Linked DNA regions of Homo sapiens: region 1 is linked to region 2. The links are contacts of gene promoters, found by promoter capture Hi-C in human tissues and cell types (Jung and others, 2019). All regions are on one chromosome and are shown on one strand. The core of a region is centred on a gene start or on the middle of the fragment in contact, and the rest is flanking DNA. Distances in the headings are between cores, read along the strand shown.

Region 1 (5,097 bases), core at 2,233-4,732, 1.7 Mb after region 2:
GGCCCCACCAACTCCCCAGGGTGCCCCAGAAGGTCTGGGAGGGAGGGCTTCACCTCTGGAGGGCAGATGTGAGGAGGGCCTGCAGACAAACGGGAAGTGCCTCTGAGGGACTTCAGGGCCCACTGGGAGGTGGGGTGAGCACCCTGCCCGCTCCCTGCAGTCTCTCAGTGGCTAAGGGAGGGCCTTGTCCTAATCATATGTGGGTGTGTGTATGCATATGCATACGTATGCACTTATAATGGAAATATATAATTTATACCTTACATATTATATATACAAAATGTAGAATCTGCCGGTCGCGGTGGCTCACGCCTGTAATCCCAAGACTTTGGGAGGCTGAGGCGGGCGGATCACAAGGTCAGGAGATCGAGACCATCCTGGCTAACACGGTGAAACCCTGTATCTACTAAAAATACAAAAAAATTAGCCGGGCATGGTGGCGGGTGCCTGTAGTCCCAGCTACTCGGGAGGCTGAGGCAGGAGAATGACGTGAACCCAGGAGGAGGAGCTTGCAGTGAGCCAAGATTGCGCCACTGCACTCCAGCCTGGGAGACAGAGCGAGACTCCATCTCAAAAAAAAAAAAAAAAAAAAATGTAAATCTATAATCTATGTAAAGGTATATTTTTACATAATATATGTGATATATATATATTTGTGTGTTAGGCTGTTCTTATGTTGCTATAAAGGAATACCTGAGACTGGGTCATTGATAAAGAACAGAGATTGAATTGGCTCTTGGCCCACGGTTCTACAGGCTGTGCAGGAATCATGGCACTGGCATCTGCTTCTCGGGAAGCCCCAGGAAGCTTCCAGTCATGGTGGAAGGTGAAGGGGGAACAGGCGTATCACATGGCCAGAGCAGGAGTGAGAGAGAGGGCCAGGGGAGGTGCCATGCACTTAACCAGATCTTGTGAGAATCACTCACTACCGTGAGAACAGCACCAAGCCATGAGGGATCCACCTCCATGACCCAAACACCTCCCACCAGGTCTCGATCTCCAACATTGGGGATTACATTTTAACATGAGACTTGTCAGGGACATATATCTAAACTATGTCAATATATGTACAAAAAATGCTATTGTTGATATCTAAGTTTTACAAGTGTATAGTCCATTTTCATACTGCTATGAAGAAATACCTAAGACTTCATAATTTATAAAGAAAGAGAGGTTTAATGGACTCACAGTTCCACATGGCTGGGGACACCTCACAATCATGGCAGAAGGCAAAGGAGGAGCAAAGGCATGCCTTACATGGCAGCAGGCAAGAGAGCATGTGCAGGGGAAACTCCCCTTTATAAAACCATCAGATCTCATGAGACTTATTCACTCTCATGAGAATAGCATGGCAAAAACCCGCCCCCATGATTCAATTACCTCCCACTGGCTCCCTCCCACAACTCGTGGGGATTATAGGAGCTACAATTCAAGATGATATTTGGGCGGGGACATAGCTAAACTATATCAACAAGTTACTTTTTTATCCTTGATTTTTATTTAAAGCCCTAAACTCAGAGCAGCCAGCCTGGGCAACCCATTCTTCCTCATCTCCTCTGCTGACTAGCAAGGCAAGAGCGCAGCGTGACAGGAGGCCTGGCTACTGTAGTCAGAAAGCCAGGCTTACGGGACCACCTATGTTTCTAGATCCTTCTCTTTCAAAGACGTGATCATCAGTTGGAAGGAGAAAGAAACACACGCTCCTTGTGGGAGCAGGGAGAAACTGCTTCATGGGTGAGGGGTTTGGCTTTGGAGCGATGGAAATATTTTGGAACTAGATGGAGGTGATGATCGCACACCATTGTGAATGTTCTAAATGCCACTGAATTGTTCACTTTAAAATGGTTAATTTTATATGAATTTTTTAAAACATTTCCCTCCCTGCTTAGATCTTCCTAGTTCCTAGAAGTGATTCCCAGGCTTCTTCCATCCATGGCTTTCATCTCCAGCAGCAGCAGGCGGGGGTAGCAGTGAGCAGGGTCCCCAGGTCCTGAGAGAGTTAGGCACTTGCCCCAGGCTGGAGCCCTCTACCCAGTTCCCCAGATCCCCGTGCATGGGAACAGCAGCCCTCCCTGTCCAGCACAGCCCCTGAGCCCCCAGGCCCTGCCCCTGGGCTGGGGACCTGGAATGCAGAGGTGACTCGCACATGCACCTACAATAAGAGGAGAGGAGACACGGGCCTGGCCAGACCCCAGGGAGGACCTCGGGGAAGGCATGCTGCAGGAGAGGCACTCAGAAGACTGGGAAGGACAGTTGAGGTACAAGCATAGAGGGAGGGAAGGGATGGGTAAGCCGGGAAGAGGGTCAGGTGCAAGGGGCCAGGGCCTTCAATGCCAGTCGAGACCCCCATCTTGGAAATCCTGCCCTTCTCTGTCCATTGGAGGCACAGGCAGTACTGACAGCCTCTGACTAGGGAGGCCTCCCATGGGAGGAGCCCCCTTCCTCTCTGCCACCCCCAGTACTTCTCAGCCCCCTCAGTTCCTGATGTAATCAGGTCTTTGCACATCACCTTACCACCTTCGTAACACACAGGATCCCTAGACATACAGTGACATGTAGATAGAAACAACTGTCACCAGTGAGAGGCAGTTCTTCACTCCCAAATACTAATAAGGTCTTTAAAACATCAGAGGCAGAAAGTCTGGGGAATGAATGGTGAGTGGGTTCTGCAGGGGAGCAATTGCCAGGGCCTGTGCACAGTACCTGGGCGTGCAGAGAGGACTCTGCTGTGGACCCTGCTGTCTGTCTAGCAGGCAAGAGAAGCTGTGGAAGAGATGGATGTGGGCAGAGAGTGGGAAGTGAGGACCATGACAGGTGAAGAGTGGGCTTCGGGACTTTACTGGGGAGGTCAAGTAGCCTGTACTATCCAGAGCTTTGGGGCCACTGCTGCCTACCTTTGTGACCCCAGCAAGCACCGACTTCTCAGAGCCTCTGCTTCCCAATCTCTAAAATGATCGGAAGTGTTACGAGTGCCCGGCCCATCTCAGCAGCACTAGGAAGGGCATGGAAGTCAGGTCAGGCAGATGGTGGTGGGAGCTGGCACACCTCTTCCTGGATATCCGGTGGGACTTGACTCTGCCCTTCTCTAGAAGGCTTTGTGGCTCTTCCAGACTCCTTTATTCATTGCTGAACTTTTTCATCTGTGAAGCAGCATACACGCATAGGTACTTAGAGTTCACACACAGGTCTGCACGCGGGATGTACTGAACGAGATTGAGGCCCAAATGCGGGACGTACTGAGTGAGATTGTTTGGGGCCTTCCCCTCACCCCACTTTCTGGGGAAGTGTTGCCTGTTCGGGACTTTTGTCCCATCTCTTCCGTCAGCTCACAGCAGGTTGCCAGCACCACCTGAAATGGGAGAAGGCCTCTGACCAGGAGTCTCTGTCTAAGTCCAGCAGCCACACTGGGCAGCGGCCCTTCCAAGAGAGGAGGGCGCGGGGAATGCAGCGACTGCCGCCACCTGTGCTGTGTCTTTTTCTTCATGCTGATCCAAGAAGGTTTCGTTTCTTTCCTTCCCTAAAATAAAGTGTGAGCAGAGTTCTATGATGTTTTATCCCTGTATGAACGTAGCATGAGCCATTCGGCTTTTCTTGCTGATTGGGAGGATCCGTTCCAGGTTTTTTCTTCTCTTATGTCCTTTCCTCTTGCTTTGCTGCTTTCTGCTTCTGCTACTCTTCTGTGTTAGGACTGAGAAAGAAAAAATATGACCACTGAAGGTTCCAGAGAAGTCATCATTCCAGGAGACACTGGGGGAAGCAAAGATTGTTGGTCCCAGGAGCGCACTGCCCGACGCTGCCCCCATGCTCTACCTTGCTTCCATTGTGCTCACTCCGTTTCTCCCTGAAACCACAATTTACTGCATAGCCACCACCTCAGGGTGCGGCCACCCCTGACTTCGGGGCTCCGCGTCCCTGCACTCATGACCAGGCCCCTAACAACTGCGGCTGCATGTTCCCGACTCTTCCCAGACCTAAGGGAGAAGCCAACACTGGAAAGGCCCCTACCACTGTCCCAGCAGCCGCATGGCTGCCACGTTGGCTCTGTGAATGCCGGCATCACGTCTCGTCCAGTGTGACCTGTTCCTCAATGTGGCAGGATTTCCAGTCCTGGTGTGGCACCAGAGTCCTCCTCTCTGAGGTTATAATTCATAGAGAAGTGCTCACTTACGGAGGCACACCCTGGGTCGTTTCTGTCCGTGTGCTTTTGAAAGCGATCCCCTGGGACAGGGCGGAGGGAGGGGTGGCCACAGAAAAGGAACCAGGCCCCTGGTTTCTCCATCGTTGCGTCCCCGTTCCATGCCCTTTTTCTCGTGTCCTGTTAAAATTGAGCACACTGGTGAGCCTCTAGTCAGCCCTTGATGCCCTGGGTCTGAGTGACTGAGAGCGACAGCCACTGTTGCCCCCACATGCCAAGCACCTGCTCTGTGCCAGCGCTGGCCAGGTGCCCCACACACTCCACTTCTGATGCACAGGCACCCTGTCATGTAGGTGGCGCCATCTTTTTAAATGTGACTTCAGTTTTTCGTCTTTCAACTTCAGTTGCTCATCTGCAGTCACCAGCTGGGATTTGAACCCAGCCAATCTGACTCCTGAGCTCCTCTTTCCTCCCACTTAGTCTTTTCCCCTGAGTCCAACAGCACCTTAGAGCATGTCTAATGCACGTGCTTACTGCCTTCATCTCATTGCAGCCTGTCCCTGCCAGCTGTGTCACCTTCATCCTGCTGCCAGCCCCTGGTGACTCTCCCGTTACAGATCAGAGACCAGACTCCAGGGGTGGAGAGTAGGGGTTCTGGACCAGCCGCTCTCTGCTCCTAGAGCTCTTGTCTACACAACTGCCTGGTGCTCAGGGGATGACGAGGCGCCTGCCTCTCTCAGTAGGTTGTGTGTCCTGGCAGCAGGGGTGGGACCTGTCCTCTTTCATAGCTCCAGCACATCTGTGCTGGATGTCACCTGGCTCCATCCAGTGACGGATTCATATTCTCTGTTTCGACATCTTCAGTTGCTGGACAACTAAATGCCATCTTCAATACCTTTAATGCCATCTTTTTTTTTCTTCTTTTGCAGCAATGGATGGTGTGCCTTTTATGATTTCAGAGA
Region 2 (4,712 bases), core at 2,163-4,662:
TGAGCCTCTATTTCCTGTCTTCTAAGGGGATGGGTAATAATGATAGTTGCTACCTAGCAGGAATGCTATGAGAATTAAACGATGCTTGCAAAGCAATTAAAGGTCTGGCCTAATAAATGGAACCTCTTACTAATGTTATTTAAAGAGTGGTTCTAAATCTCAGATGCATGTCTTCTGAAAGTGCTTCTGGGAGGAGTCAAATACCACAAGACTGAGAAAAACAAGGGAAATGACTGTGCTAGAGACCCCAGCCACTGTCCTAAGCATTGACAGCCCAATGAACTAAGCACTCACTATGAGTCCAGCACCTACTATGGGGCCTTTTATCTAATCTCTCTACATTTCTTCCAACAATCCTAAGAAATCAATACTTTCTCCCCCAGTTTAGAAATGTGGGGACAGGTTCAGAAAGATGAAAAAGACTCTGCTACCACCTGCAGGACTCAAAAGATCTGGAAAGGAATGTGTCTAAGGGTAAGGAGGGATCTTAGGGGGCTGTGGTTCTGAGGCCAGAGGCAGCAGACAGACGGGACCAGACTGGGATACAGCTAAGAACAAGGCAGGCATGGCCGGACATGGTGGCTCACACCTGTAATCCTAGCACTTTGGGAGGCCGAGGCGGGTCAGATTGACTGATCTCAATCGGGAGGGATGACTAGAAGTGAGACTAGGTGGAGAGGAAGGCTTTCAGGTGGAAGGAACAGCATGTGCCAAGGTCCCAAGGCCAGCCAGATCACGGCTTGGCCCATTTGAGGAGCTGGGAGAATCTGTGGTGACCAGAGCCCACTGAGAGAGAGAAGGGTAAAGAGGAGGCAGCCAGAGATTATCAGGTCATGTGGGGGAACAGCCAGCAGGGGGCAGAGTTCCTCTAGTGACGGCAGCCTTGCTCTTCCTTGTCCTGCCTAGAGTCAGAGCAAGGCCGCAGTTCATCAAGAAAGGGCTTGGGGAGGGAATCCCCCCTGCCGGCTTCGATTTCTTTTAAGTACGCTCTGTCCCGTTTTTGAATACATAGGACACACACATTACAAAACCCACAGGATGCAATGAAAGTTCTTACTCCCTGGATCTCCTTAGAACCACCGTGCTGACTTTTTGCATTGTTTTTCAGATAGTCTATGTCCATAAGAACATACACGATATTTACTTTTTACACTAATCTAGCCCCGGTTTTGATGCCTCCCAGGGGATCTCTAGTTATAGAAGAAGCTTATTTGTGGATGGGCACAGTGGCTCATGCCTGTAATCCCAGCACTTTGGGAGGCCGAGGTGGGCGGGTCACGAGGTCAGGAGTTTGAGACCAGCTTGGCCAACATAGTGAAACCCTGTCTCTACTAAAAATACAAAAAATTAGCTGGGCGTGGCGGCAGGCACCTGTAATCCCAGCTACTTGGGAGGCTGAGGCAGGAGAATTGCTTGAAGCCGGGAGGCGGACATTGCAGTGAGCCGAGATTGCGCCACTGCACTCCAGCCCGGGCGACAGTGCAAGACTCTGTCTCAAGAAAAAAAAAAAAAAAAAGAAGCAGCAGCAGCTTATTTGTACTCAGTGTGTGCTTTGCACAGGGTTCTTTAATTCAGCTGAGAGTTGTAGAGCACCGTACCTTGTGCCAGGTCAGTGGTTCTCAAACCCTAAGCCCCCTGGAGCCCTGGAGGGTGTGTTAAAACACAGATTGCTGGACTCCATGCCCAGAGTTTCTGATTTTGTGAGTCTGTAGTGGGGCCTAAGAATTTGCATTTCTTTTTCTTTTTTTTTTCTTTGAGAAGGTCTCGCTCTGTCACCCAGGCTGGAGTACAGTGTCACGATCTTGGCTCACTACAGCCTCTGCCTCCTGGGTTCAAGTGATTTTTGTGCCTCAGCCTCCCAAGTAGCTGGGACTACAGGCATGTGCCACCACGCCCAGCTAAGTTTTGTTTTTTGGGTTTGTTTGTTTGTTTTTGAGACAGAGTGTCACTCTTGCCCAGGCTGGAGTGCAGTGGTGCCATCTCGGCTCACTGCAACCTCTGCCTCCCGGGTTCACAAGCGATTCTCCTGCCCCAGCCTCCCGAGTAGCTGGGATTATAGGCATGCACCACCACATCAGCCTAATTTTTGTATTTTTAGTAGAGGCGAGTTTTCACCATGTTGCCCAGGCTGGGAGAGTTTGCATTTTTAACAAGTTATCCGATGATGCGGAGGCTGAGACCAAGGACCACACTTTGAGAACCACTGAGTTCAATGTTCATGGGGAGAAACTAAGAATGTGCCCTAGGAAGTCATGCTCCAACACAAGGAAACAAACACACCAACAAGAAAGACAGTCCCATTGAGCAATAAATTCTATGAAGAAAATGAGACCAAGCATGGTGGCTCACACTTGTAATCCCAACACTTTGAGAGACTAGGGTGGCTGGATTGCTTGAGCCCGGGAGTTTGAGAGCCTGGGCAACACAGAAGACCCCATCCCTAAAATAAATACAGAAATTAGCCAGCATGGTGGCACATGCCTGTAGTCCAAGTTATTCAGAAGGCTGAGGGAGGAGGATAGCTTGAGCTGGAAAGTTGACGATACAGTGAGCTGTATTCGCAACACAGCACTCCAGCCTGGGTGACAAAGGAAGACCCAGTCAAAAAAAAAAAAGGAAATGCTGGGTGCAGTGGCTCATGCCTGTAATCTCAACACTTTCGGAGGCCAAGGTGGGAGGATTGCTTGAGCCCAGAAGTTCAAGACCAGTCTAGGCAACAGAGTGAGACCCCGTCTCTGCAAAAAAAAAAAAAACTTTAAATTAGCCAGGTGTAGTGGTGCACACCTGTAGTTTCAGCTACTCAGGAGGCTGAGGTGGGAGGATCACTTGAGCTGGGAAGGTCAAGGCTGTAGTGAGCTGGGATCGCACCACTGCACTACGGCCTGGGCAACAGAGTGAGAAAAATAAAAATTTAAAAGCCGGAAGCTACTGGAGTTTGGGAGCCGACAGGAGGGATTCCAGAGGGAAGGAGAAATGAAAGACGGAAGACAGGTTGGGGTTGCTGAGCCTTGGGAAGGCTTACAGCAGTCAGGTCCCTGTCCAGAAGTGGGTGAAATCGGAGAGCGCAAGGGCTCACGTGCCCTGGGAACATCCGTCTCTCATGCGAACTTTACAAACACTCCAAAAGGAAAGCACGAGTCCCCCATCTTACAGATGAGGAAACTGAGGCACACAGGTGAAGGGACACGCCCAAGGTCCCACGACTCACAGGACAGGACCTGAGTCCGTGAGAGGAGCCCACGCGCCTCGCCCTGGCCCCGTTGCTCCTGCCGGCTGCGATCGAGACCCACCCTGGCGCGCGGGCAGGGATGCCCTTGGGAGAGCCGCCCGACGACGGGGAGGCCCCGCGAACGGCGGGCGGGGCGGGGCGGGGTGCCCCCTCCGCCCTAGCTCCGCCCCTGGCGGCGCTGGAAGACCCGCGGGGCTGGCAGCAGGGTGCAGGCGCGGGGCGCGGGGCAGGCAGAGCGGGCGAAGGCGCGGAGCTCGCAGTGCAGCCCGCGCTTCCCAGCGTCCGTGCCCGGCCGCCTGTGCCTACCGTGCCCGTGGCGCCATGGCCGCTGCCGCCCTCCCGCCCCGGCCGCTGCTCCTTCTGCCGCTAGTGCTGCTGCTGAGCGGCCGCCCCACGCGCGCCGACAGTAAGGTACGCACGCCCCTCGGACCCGCGCGGCTCGGCGGGTAGCGGGGCGCGAGGGGGCGCTGTGGCTGGGGTGCGGCCCGGGAGGGAGCCCGGGGCCAGGGCGGAGGAGCCGGGAGCTGAGAGACCGAACCTGGGACTTCTCAGCACTGAAGCCGCAGGGGCAGGGGCCCCGAGAGAGGGGCGCGTGGAGGAACAAGCGCTGGAGATGTAGGGATGCTAGGGACCCGGGGCCTGAGGAAGGGGCGCTGGGACCGGGTCCGATTCCCGGAGGGGTCGGGGGATTTCCCCGGAGTGCTGGCCAGACTCGGGGTTCGTAGGGGAAGCTCCTGGCAACTGTTACCCAACGACTCCCAGGCTTGCAGCAAGCCCTGGGCCACGGCTTTCACGGCCCGCTGGGGACTGGGGGTCTTCTCTACCCGATGAACGCAGCCGCGCTGGCCACTCGCCTGGCCTCTGATGTTCTTGCCAGGGACCGGGTGCACCCCCTGGAGGACTAGGTAGCTCCAGAAGTGGTCTGAGCTGTTCTCTGCTGTGGCTAAGAGGATCTGCTCTGGTGTCAAGCCGACCTGGGTTCAGTCGCACATCCGCTTCTCATCCGCCATCGCCCATCTGAGCCTCCGTCTATTCACCTGTAGATACAGGGAGAATCATGGGACCCACTTCCTGCAGTTGATGGTCTCTAGATGCGGTGTGGTCATGCCTGTAAAGTACTTAGCACTAGGCCGGGCGCGGTGGCTCACGCCTGTAATCCCAGCACTTTGGGAGGCCGAGACGGGCGGATCACAAGGTCAGGAGATCGAGACCATCCTGGCTAACACGGTGAAACCCCGTCTCTACTAAAAATACAAAAAAAAGTAGCCAGGCATGGTGGTGGGCGCCTGTAGTCCCAGCTACTCCGGAAGCTGAGGTAGGAGAATGGCGTGAACCCGGGAGGCGGAGCTTGCAGTGAGCCGAGATCGCGCCACTGCACTCCAGCCTGGGCGACAGAGCGAGACTCCGTGTCAAAAAAAAAAAGAAAAAAAAAAAATACTTAGCACCAGAGCACTTGGGGTGTTCTGGAAATGACTCCCTGATG

Evidence for each region. Contacts are between HindIII fragments. The study calls those that stand out against the background at their distance.
Region 1: a fragment that was not itself captured here is called in contact with the fragment with the promoter of OLFML2A in region 2 in 1 of the 25 tissues and cell types used here (dorsolateral prefrontal cortex).

Annotation. Positions count from the first base shown.
Region 1 is chr9:126,476,305-126,481,401 of GRCh38, forward strand. MVB12B (multivesicular body subunit 12B) reads left to right here. Exons shown (of 10, transcript NM_033446.3): 8 at 5,065-5,097. Among named protein-coding and RNA genes, the nearest start is that of NRON, 68 kb to the left of the region's middle. RefSeq lists enhancers at 1-42, 43-621. The HindIII fragment of the contact is 8,937 bases long and covers 1-5,097 here.
Region 2 is chr9:124,773,721-124,778,432 of GRCh38, forward strand. OLFML2A (olfactomedin like 2A) reads left to right here and starts at 3,413. Exons shown (of 8, transcript NM_182487.4): 1 at 3,413-3,640. The coding sequence starts at 3,551. LOC107987126 (a long non-coding RNA gene) reads left to right here. Exons shown (of 2, transcript XR_001746926.3): 2 at 1-117. RefSeq lists silencers at 3,317-3,416, 3,487-3,786. The HindIII fragment of the contact is 24,652 bases long and covers 1-4,712 here.